Regions from separate parts of the Homo sapiens genome. Here regions 1 and 2 are each linked to region 3. The links are contacts of gene promoters, found by promoter capture Hi-C in human tissues and cell types (Jung and others, 2019). All regions are on one chromosome and are shown on one strand. Each heading gives the region's core, a stretch centred on a gene start or on the middle of the fragment in contact. The rest is flanking DNA. Distances are from core to core; before and after follow the strand shown.

Region 1 (3,186 bases), core at 220-2,719, 360 kb after region 3:
CTCTCCAATGCTGGCTCCCCTCCCCCGCCTAACCGAGAGGCTCAGAGGAATGACGTGGCTCTCCGGGGGCCACAGGGCAGCCCGGGGGGTTGCGGGAAGGGCCCCGGGGGACGCTGGGGGGCGGGCCCCGGCGGGGTCCACGGCCGCTCACCTGGGCGCTCTCCACCTGCCCGTTGACCATGAGTAGAAAGACGCTAGGACTCGCGGTCGCCATGGCAGGTCTGGGGGTGCCGGGGGGACCCACCTAGGCCGCGCGCGGTTGCTAAGAGACGCCGGCGTTGCCCTAGAAACAGACGGCGTAGCGCGCAGGACACGTTTCTTGGCAGCGACACCTTCGCGAAGGCCACGCGAGTGCGCGTGTGGCATGCGCAGGCGCAGTGAACGGGCGCCGTTATAAGGGGGCGGGGCACAAGGGGCGGGGATCCACGCCGAGGCTCCACCCCTCCTTAGGGCAGGTATGACCGAGAGCTGGGGCGGGAGCGTTGACCTGTCGGGTAAAGCCAGCCCTACCGCTCGACTCAGTTGCACGCGCAGGGAGTGTGTGTTCACTCTGACTCGGCCCGGCTCCCCGTCCCCGCCGAAGCGCAGAGGCGAATGAGAGCTGAGTCCTGGGGAGCAGCGCTCCGACTCACGCCCTCAGCAAGCCGAGTGTTTAAAATACATTCAGCCACTAGATGTCGCTGTGGCCCCACCGCGAGGACGCGGAGGGAGGCGCTGCAGAGCACGGGCGACGTGACCACAGCTGTCGGGGCTAACTCTGGAATGCCGGGTGCTCGGAGGAGCCTCCCCAGCTGGGGCCAAGCAGCGTCCAAGCAGGTGAAAAGGATGCGCCCCTGTGGCTTGGAGACGCTTGCCCTCGAAAAAGTTTATTAAACAAACTTGGGAGGGACCTCAAGAATCCTTACATCCAAGCCATCGCTCTTTAGTTCGAAGCTGGGGAAACTGAGGCCCGCAGCGGGCGGCGCCTGGCACCCCAATCAGCCAGCGCTCAGGGGAGTTGCTAGCCAAAATCCACGAATCTGTCAAGATACAGTCTTGTATCTTAGTGGCCTGTCACAGAGTAAGCACTTGGTAACTACTAACTTGTTGATAAATGAATAATTGAAGACATCTCCATTTTACAGAGGAGGAAACAGATTCAGATGGCAAAGGCAGGTAAGTAGCTAAGTCAGGATTCAAACCCAGGACTCCAGAGGCTAACAACCCTCACTGCCTCTGTCTTGTCCTGGGCCAGCCCCAACAGCATCTGTTGGCAGAGGTGTCAAAGGAGACGTTGGAGACATTATCTTGGATCCAGGAAATGAAGGGATTCACAGGTGTGTAGACTCCCGGGAGGCCAGGCTCCGAGCAGGGACCCCAGGTCATCACATTCTGCAGCTTCTAGCTTGGGAGCAGACTAGGGGAGTCCCATCAACCATCTGCACGAGGGAGGGAAGGAGCAGTCTCAGCCCAGCCTGCACCCACTGAACCACCCCCTGCCTAGTGAGCAAAGATATTTGATCAGGGGAGGGAGGCAGCGGGTAACCAGTTCACACATCTGACAAGAGCAGCTGGGGGAGGGGATGGGTGGGCTGGTGGCCCAAGTGCTGCACCCAGAGCCCAAGACAGGGCCCATTTCCCCTCCTGGAGAGGGGGTCATACTCCCTTCTTCCCCCGCTCTGTCCATCTCTTTCCAGTTAAAGTGCTTTCTCCCACACATTCTATCAGTCTCACCCAATTATTTCCTCCCTTTGGCCTTTGAGGCTCGGTGTTGCACACAAGTTAGTTTTCAGCAAAATGCTTGTAGTTATCGAATAACTGGGGGCTCCCAGTAGTTTAAGACCTGGCTATACCAAAGGTGGCCCCACATTCAAATAGGACATAATGGGGGAGTCTCCCCAAGGGGTGGGAAGTTCTAGGGTGGCCTTCAGGGGTACAAATAAGCCCGACCCCTGGGTGTTGGGGAATGGAAGACTCCAGGATAGGATGGGAGGGTGACCAGGCCTAACTTTAACAAGTCTAGTGGCATTAGAAGCGACTTTAGGAGAGGGGTCTCAGGGGCTTGCATAGGGGCTTGCATAGGGCCTGCTGGAATCCTTACCACCAGTTCAAGGGCCCAGTGGAGAGCCTGGTGTACTAGAAGTCCTTGGGCAGGCTGTCCTTCAGGTCAGGACAGTCAGGTTGGAGGAGAAGGTAGTTTCTGCAGATGCTGACACACAGCGATCTCAGCAGGACACTCTGCAGCTCTTGGGGTGGGATGTAGGGATCTGCAATGGGGTGGGGCAGACCCTCAGCCCAGCTGACATCCAGCCGATCTGCACCAGTCCAGCCATGCTGGTTGTTAACATATATTGCTGAGCTTCCCTGCCTGTGCCTGTGCCAAGTCTCTCCACCCCCAGATGCCTTCCTGGGCTCCTAGACATTCCTCGCTCCCACCTCACTCTTAGTACAGCTCTGTCCTCTGGTACACTCCCACGCAGTCCCCTCAGGGAAGCTTCCAGCACATTGGGCAGGCGGGGCTGTCAGCCATTGGGCAGGGGTGAGGCTGGAAGCTGGCTTGAGCAGAGCAGGTGTCAGCGCCAGCCCTCTTCCCTGCATGCCTATGGCCATGGTGCTGCCGGGCAGCTGGCCAGAGCCCCTGCAGGGTCCCAAGCTCCACCCTGGCCATCTGCCTCCCCCAGTCTCTCAACCATCCCAGGCTTCTGCTCCCATCCTTACTGAAATCGGGTTCAAACCCCTGGCCCCAGCAGAGCTGTCTCAGGAAGAGGGAACAGTGGGATTGAGTGGCCAGGGGGACGGCCTGCACAGCGCTGGTGAGCGACGGAGGCCTTGCCCCTTGCCAGTTGTGCCAGGACCAGGCTACCAAACCCAGAGCCCTCGGGCCCTGCTGAGGACAAGAGCAGCTCCCCCATGGTAACCTGATCTCACAAGAGTCCATCTGCAGTCGATCTGGACCCAAGGTCACACTGAAGTGGGACCAAGGCCAACTGTGGAGAGAGGAGGTGAAGGGGAGGTGGAGAGCTGGAGAGGCTGGGGGCCACCCTCCTGGAGCCCCTCTCCACCACCCCTCCTGGCTGTGCACCCACCTGTCAAAGCAGTTGGCGCCTGTGAGCACCCACTCTTGGGAGATGAGGGCCCCCTCACAGCGGCACCAGGTGTCCAGGAAGATGCTGGCCTGGCCAAGCCATTTGTCTGGGCCCTTCTTGC
Region 2 (2,934 bases), core at 355-2,854, 390 kb before region 3:
AGGGGCCAAGACGTCAAATAATACAAAATGTTATTTGCCATTTTCACTCTCATTCTGTTTCACGTGTACAGTGGAGCTTTTCATAGACATGGTGTGTCATAACATCATAGCTCTAATGGTGAATGGGTCATAGTTCTAAAGGCTTTGGAATGTATGGCTGAGCGTGCTTGTTTTTTTTTGTTCGTTTGTTTGTTTTTTCAGATGGAGTCTCACTCTGTCACCCAGCCTGGAGTGCAGTGGCGCGATCTCGGCTCACTGCAAGCTCCGCCTGCCAGGTTCACACCATTCTCTGCCTCAGCCTCCCGAGTAGCTGGGACTACCGGCGCCCTCCACCACGCCCGGCTAATTTTTTGTATTTTTAGTAGAGACGGGGTTTCACCGTGTTAGCCAGGATGGTCTCGATCTCCTGACCTCGTGATCCGCCCGCCTCGGCCTCCCAAAGTGCTGGCATTACAGGCGTTAGCCACCACGCCTGGCCGCATGCTTGTTTTTAAAATATTTTAGTTTTTATTTCTAAAATAGTAAATATCAAAAGACACAACCGACTTAAATAAAAGCTCTTTGGAATTTGCAATAATTTTTCTTTATTTTAATTATTTATTTATCATTATGAAGAGAGTTTGAGATCCAGTCATTTGATAGAAAACCAGAGCTTCCTGTGTCAATAAGGACTGACCTCAAAAATGTAATGTGACCAGACAAAAGAAAGTTGCAAAATATGTAGAGTGTAAAACAATTTATATACAATTTTAGGACATGAAAACAAATTCTACATATTATTTATGACCATACACATATGTAATAAAATGTTTTAAAAGGGAATGGACATAATAAATTCTTAATTCAGGGTGTTGGTTACCTCTAGGCAATAATATTTAATCATATAAAACGAACCCCAGGCCAAAAAGTTTCAGAATCAATGTTTTAAAAGACTGTGTCCACCATGTAGTTATTAAGGGTAATTAATTGCTTTCTTCGTTTTTGATAATCAAAACACACACACATGATTTGCTGACCAGAATATCTGACTGGCTTAAAATCATCAGTATAGCCACACTATGATGAAATAATTAAACTTAAAGCACAACTAACATATTGGCAAGTAAAGTTTGTCTTATCTGATAAGTTTTGGTGCTGCACGTTCACCTTATATTCTTTCCACCTTTCTAATACCCCACTCTTCTTTTGAAGTATTATCTCATTTTACCACCCTCCATCATATCCACTTGCTTCTTTTCCCTTCATTTACTCTCTGTACTCTCTGCCTTCCACATTCTTTATTCCCCCTTTTACTCTTATCCTCTTCCTTCTATCCTGACATTGCATATCTAGGGTTCAGTAGTATCCACTGTTCCAGGCATTCACTGGGGGTCTTGGAACATAACCCCCATGGATAAGGGGGGAAAACTGTACATTTTATTGTGTAGGTCTATGGGTGCTGTGCTGTGTTCTGTGGCAAAACATAGGGAAGAGACCAGGGATAAGGATCTTTGCAAAGACTTTTCAGCTGCCAGTGGAGAAGAGCTCAAGGGAGATCAATGTACTCACTCTCACTAATCCTCTTCTGGGGCAGATGCTGGCAATGTTTACTGAGTTCTAGCTATTTTCCCTAGCACAAACAAGGCTCAAATTCACCTCCCATTTTACCTCCTATGGACAGAACCACTGGAAAGATCACTCCCTTAAAGAGCTTATTCACTCTGAGCCACACCATTCATTCAGTGAGAAGCTTAAGAAGAAACACTGCCACAGTGGTGGCAGGTTGCCAGGGAGTACTACCTGGTATGAAAAATATATATAAACAGAACTATCAGCTCACTCAAGCTGCCAGAATGTGCCAACAGTTGTTACTCTCTCTGGTGAAAACAACATTATTTTTCATTTATTGTAAAGAAAAACACTGGCATTTCCTATGACAGAGCATTTAGTTGTAGATGAGCCATATTCTAATAATATAGACTGTTTTCAAGCTCATCCCTAAAAGGAAGAGAACCAGAGAGGAACATATTTATTCACCTGTAGTGTTCACTGCCTGATCTTCTTTTTAAGTGCAAGGTAAGTATGCAAGACTTTGTGATTCCAGTTTTATAAAGTCCAGCTCTTGAGATTATCCCGTCCCATCGCTAGACTCTATCTGGACCCATCTCCTAGAGCACGATGGTCCAGTTAGTGCTGTGGAATACTGCATGATGCCATTTTTCCCCACCCTCCCCGTTACGTGGCAAACATCTACAGAAATCACGCTTTCTCAGCACGTCAAATCATACGCCATCAGATCCTGTTCTGATGAACACAACATGAGGAAAACAAACACAAGGACAAAGAACATCTAAAATGACAGAATCAAATTACCATGGAACTTTATTGTTTAAATATTCAAAAAGATATCCACCACTGTTTTATTCCAACTATATGACTAGTCTGGAAAAAGCAAAACTACTGAGACACCAAAAAGACCAATGGTTGCCAGAAACCAGTGGAGAGGAAGAGACGAAACAGTGGAGGACAGAGGATATTTAGGGCAGTGAAACTATTTTGTCTGTGATACTACAAGGGTATATACATGCCATCACACATTTGTCCAACACCATAGAATGTACAAAACCAAGAGTGAACCCTAACGTAGACTGTGGACCTTGGGGGTGATGTGTCTGTCAAGGTAGATTCCTCAACTGTAACTCTGATGAACTCTGATGGGGGGTACTGATAATGAGGGAGGCTATTCATATGTCAGGGGTCATGGGGAATATGGAAAATCTCTGTACCTTCTCAATTTTGCTGTGAATCTAGAACTGCTCAGAAAATAATATTATTAATTCTAAAGCACATACTCACTGAACTTGCTATTACCCTAAATTATAAAAAGACAGAGTCACCTTGAAAATTGCAAATCACTAAAGATCAAGGTAACAGAATACGAGTACTATCTCCGAA
Region 3 (3,157 bases), core at 283-2,782:
GGTGCCTTCTTCTGGGGAACCAGAAACACCCTCCAACAATAAAGAGGCCCTTTGAGACGGGGCAGCCCACTGTCACCTGCTAGGACCTGGGAACCCTACCCTGCAAAGAAACTGCGGATCCCCACGAAGGTGGGGAGGAAACCTCCACCCAAGAGGCAGCCAGGGAAAACAGCAGAGATCCCTAGAAGCCCATGTTGGGCTCCCGTTTTGGGCTCTGAGTGAGCCTGTATTGAGAGGGGTCCGGTGGCTGGTTGGGCCATGGCTCCAGGAGTCCCCGCGCTGCCTCACCTTCTGTGCCTGGCTGATCATCTTCCGCACCACCTCTTTGATGTGGGCCTGCCCGTCTATGGGGGGCTGCATGTAGACGCTAGCCCGGGTCACGCCGCGGTAGGCGATGGTGTCGGGCCAGCCCAGGTCCAGCTGCGGGATGGAGCGGTCCGACTTCTGGGGCCAGTACTCCAGGGAGGGCAGCGGCTCGGCCTCGATGGGGACCCCATCCGCCCCGCTGGCTTCCTCGCCGTCGCCGACCCCATTGTCCTCGGGCCCCTGAGAGGGGCCCGTGCCCCGAGGGTCCTCAGAGCCCGGGTCGTACACCTCGATGGTCTCCAGGATGCGCTTGAGCTCCAGCTCCGAGAGGAAGTCTCGGATGTTCTCCCGCTTGAGCACCTCGTAGAAGGCGTCCCGGCCGCGGGCCACCAGGGCCTCCAGCGCCAGCCGCTGCTCCTCGCTGTAGAAGAACTCAGGCTTGGACTCGCTGGAGCGCCAGTTCACATGGTTGTCGTCCAGACACTGCACCTGAGAGAAGGCCATGGCGCCGCCTGCCCGGGCACTGCTGCCGGGGGTGGGTGGGCAAGGTCCAGCTCCTAGCTCCGGCCCAGCTGGGGCACCGCGCGCTCGGGGGCCTCTCCGCGGCCTCTGCTTCTCTGCCCATGAGCAATCTGCGGGAAAGACCTGATGAGCCCGGCTCGGCGGGGAGGGCGGGCCGCGCGGGGAGGGGCGGCGGGGGCGGGGCCGGGAACTCAGGTGGGCGTGGGAAGGACGGGGCTGGGGCTGGGGCTGGGAAGATGAGGTGGGGGCACTGGACTGGGATGGGAAGAAAGTAAGGGATCGGAACAGCGGTGAGGGAGCGGTGGGCCACGTCCCAGGGCTCAGCGTGCCTCTACGTGCAGGGAACCCATATCCCAGATTTCCGGAGCTGCCTGAAGTCCTCGCAACTTCTGAGGGAAACTAGGGCAGCCGGGGAACTTCCCAGTAGCTTCTTAGAGTGGGAGGCGGCCCCGGCACAGAGGCGCCCCGCAAACCGAGGGCTTCCGGGTAAGGGAGGGGTCTTAAAATTTCCGGGTGCCGGCAACCCAGGAGGCCTGCCCGGAGGAGGCTGGGGCTCTGGGAGGGGTCCAGGAGACCCAGAAACGCGGTTGCGGGGCGGCGACGCCCCGCGAGACCCGGGATCCGGGGGGCGCGGCCGGGACTTGCTTACCGAGCGGGCGCTGGCGGAGCGGGGCGCACACGCGGCGGCTGCGGCGGCGGCGCGAGGCTGGGCGGGGGCGCGCCGGTGACTCAGGGCCGCCCCGCTTACCCCGCCGCCGCCACCTGCGGTCACGTGCCGCCCGGGGCGGGGCCGGAAGCTGATTCACCCCTCGACAGACAGACAGACCTGGGGCGGACGCACTGCCCACGGTCCCCTGGTGCCCGAATTCCGAAAATATCAGAGGCCTAAGCCCAAGAGCTCCTGGAACACCCATCCCAGAGAGGGACAGTGTTCTCCCTGAGGTCACACAGCGGGTCAACAGCCTTGGCACCCCCCTGTGCCCCCAGGGTCTGTTGGTGATCCTGGATCAACCCTGGCTGTGCCCAGTTTCGCCGGCGTGGCGGGAAGTCCGTGCGGCTGTATAGATACCCAGCTGTCCAGTTGTGGAAACAGGTCTAGGGTACTGGGCTGGGAGCCCCCAGGCAGGGATAGGGCACTGACTGACCCAAACTCAGGGCTTTCCTGAGCAGATACCCAGTTCTCAGTCCTAAGCCCTGATCCCCTCTGGGAGGGGTCCCCGGACTGCTTCTGCGTGGCGGGCAGCACCCGACCTGAACCCTAGGGCAGGGAGGGGCCAAGAGGGCCGCTGTGGGCTGGGGTCAGGCCCAGCTCTCTGCTGAGCGTCCCCTGGGGTTGGGACCCTGGTTATGGGGAGCGTGGAGACCACATCTGAAGGCAGGCTTTGAGGGTGGGACAGCAAAGCCCATTAAATCTGGCCCAACAAACAGCCCCCACCCCATCGCGTGCCGCAGCCAGTCTGCCCGGCACCAGGCCCAGCCCTTCCTCCCATCCCCCATACTTGCTCTGGATCTGGATGGGGCTGGTTTGGGTCCCGTAAGGATGCTGCTTCCGTAGGCTGGTGACATCTCTAGGCCTTGTGCCCTCAAACCCCCCCCCTCCAAGGCCTTCTCCACCATTCATGGCCCATCAGGACTCCTTGCCTCTGAGTCCACTGCCCTGGGCAATGACTAGCCTCCTAGGCCCAGCATCCTTGTGGTCCCCATCACTGACCCCTCAAGCATGAAGTCCTACACTCTGCCATATAGCCCCCCAAGGGCTTTATGCTACTGAACATAGTGGCCCCTGGGGAACAGGCACACATATTTGCATCCTCCTCCTGCCCCAGGGCCAGAGAGGGGAGGTGATCCCAGCGGGGGAGCCCTGCCTTGAGGGTCCTGAAGACCCATTTATAGCCCCTCTGCTACTGTGGATCCCCTGTAAGACCTTCTCTGAGCCGCCTCAGCTTCTCCCTGTGTTCTTACCAATGCACAGAGGCTGGAGAGTTCAGGAAGGGAGTCCAAGGCCTCACTCCCACCTCCACCACCCCAACACTTCTGCAGTTGATGAGCAGGAAGGTTGTATGCACCCAGTTTTCCCCAGTAGCGACGTTTTGCATAACTATAATACAATAATATCACAGCCAGAAAATTGACACTGGTGCAATCCACAAAGCTTATTTAGATTTCACCAGTTTTTTGTTTGTTTTGGGACAGGGTCTTGCTCTGTCACCTAGGCTGGAGTGCAGTGGTATGTACAATCATTGCTCAATGCAGCCTTGAACTCCTGGGCTCAAGCCTCAGCCTCCTGAGTAGCTGGGACCAGAGACACCATGCCCAGCTAATTTTTTTT

Evidence for each region. Contacts are between HindIII fragments. The study calls those that stand out against the background at their distance.
Region 1: a fragment that was not itself captured here is called in contact with the fragment with the promoter of FAM83G in region 3 in 1 of the 25 tissues and cell types used here (spleen).
Region 2: a fragment that was not itself captured here is called in contact with the fragment with the promoter of FAM83G in region 3 in 1 of the 25 tissues and cell types used here (hippocampus).

Annotation. Positions count from the first base shown.
Region 1 is chr17:19,362,356-19,365,541 of GRCh38, forward strand. It overlaps B9D1 (B9 domain containing 1), which reads right to left and starts at 368. Exons shown (of 7, transcript NM_015681.6): 1 at 152-368. The coding sequence starts at 214. It overlaps LOC105371573 (a long non-coding RNA gene), which reads left to right and starts at 422. Exons shown (of 3, transcript XR_934302.4): 1 at 422-816; 2 at 1,125-1,155. RefSeq lists a silencer at 8-277 and enhancers at 427-1,211, 768-837. The HindIII fragment of the contact is 4,902 bases long and covers 1-3,186 here.
Region 2 is chr17:18,611,440-18,614,373 of GRCh38, forward strand. LOC107985051 (a long non-coding RNA gene) reads left to right here. Exons shown (of 3, transcript XR_001752812.2): 3 at 202-2,934. It also overlaps the pseudogene CCDC144BP. Among named protein-coding and RNA genes, the nearest start is that of TBC1D28, 31 kb to the right of the region's middle. The HindIII fragment of the contact is 7,367 bases long and covers 1-2,934 here.
Region 3 is chr17:19,003,232-19,006,388 of GRCh38, forward strand. It overlaps FAM83G (family with sequence similarity 83 member G), which reads right to left and starts at 1,533. Exons shown (of 6, transcript NM_001039999.3): 1 at 1,478-1,533; 2 at 289-938. The coding sequence starts at 810. All of the region lies in intron 9 of SLC5A10 (solute carrier family 5 member 10), which reads left to right. RefSeq lists a silencer at 1,405-1,704. The HindIII fragment of the contact is 10,221 bases long and covers 1-3,157 here.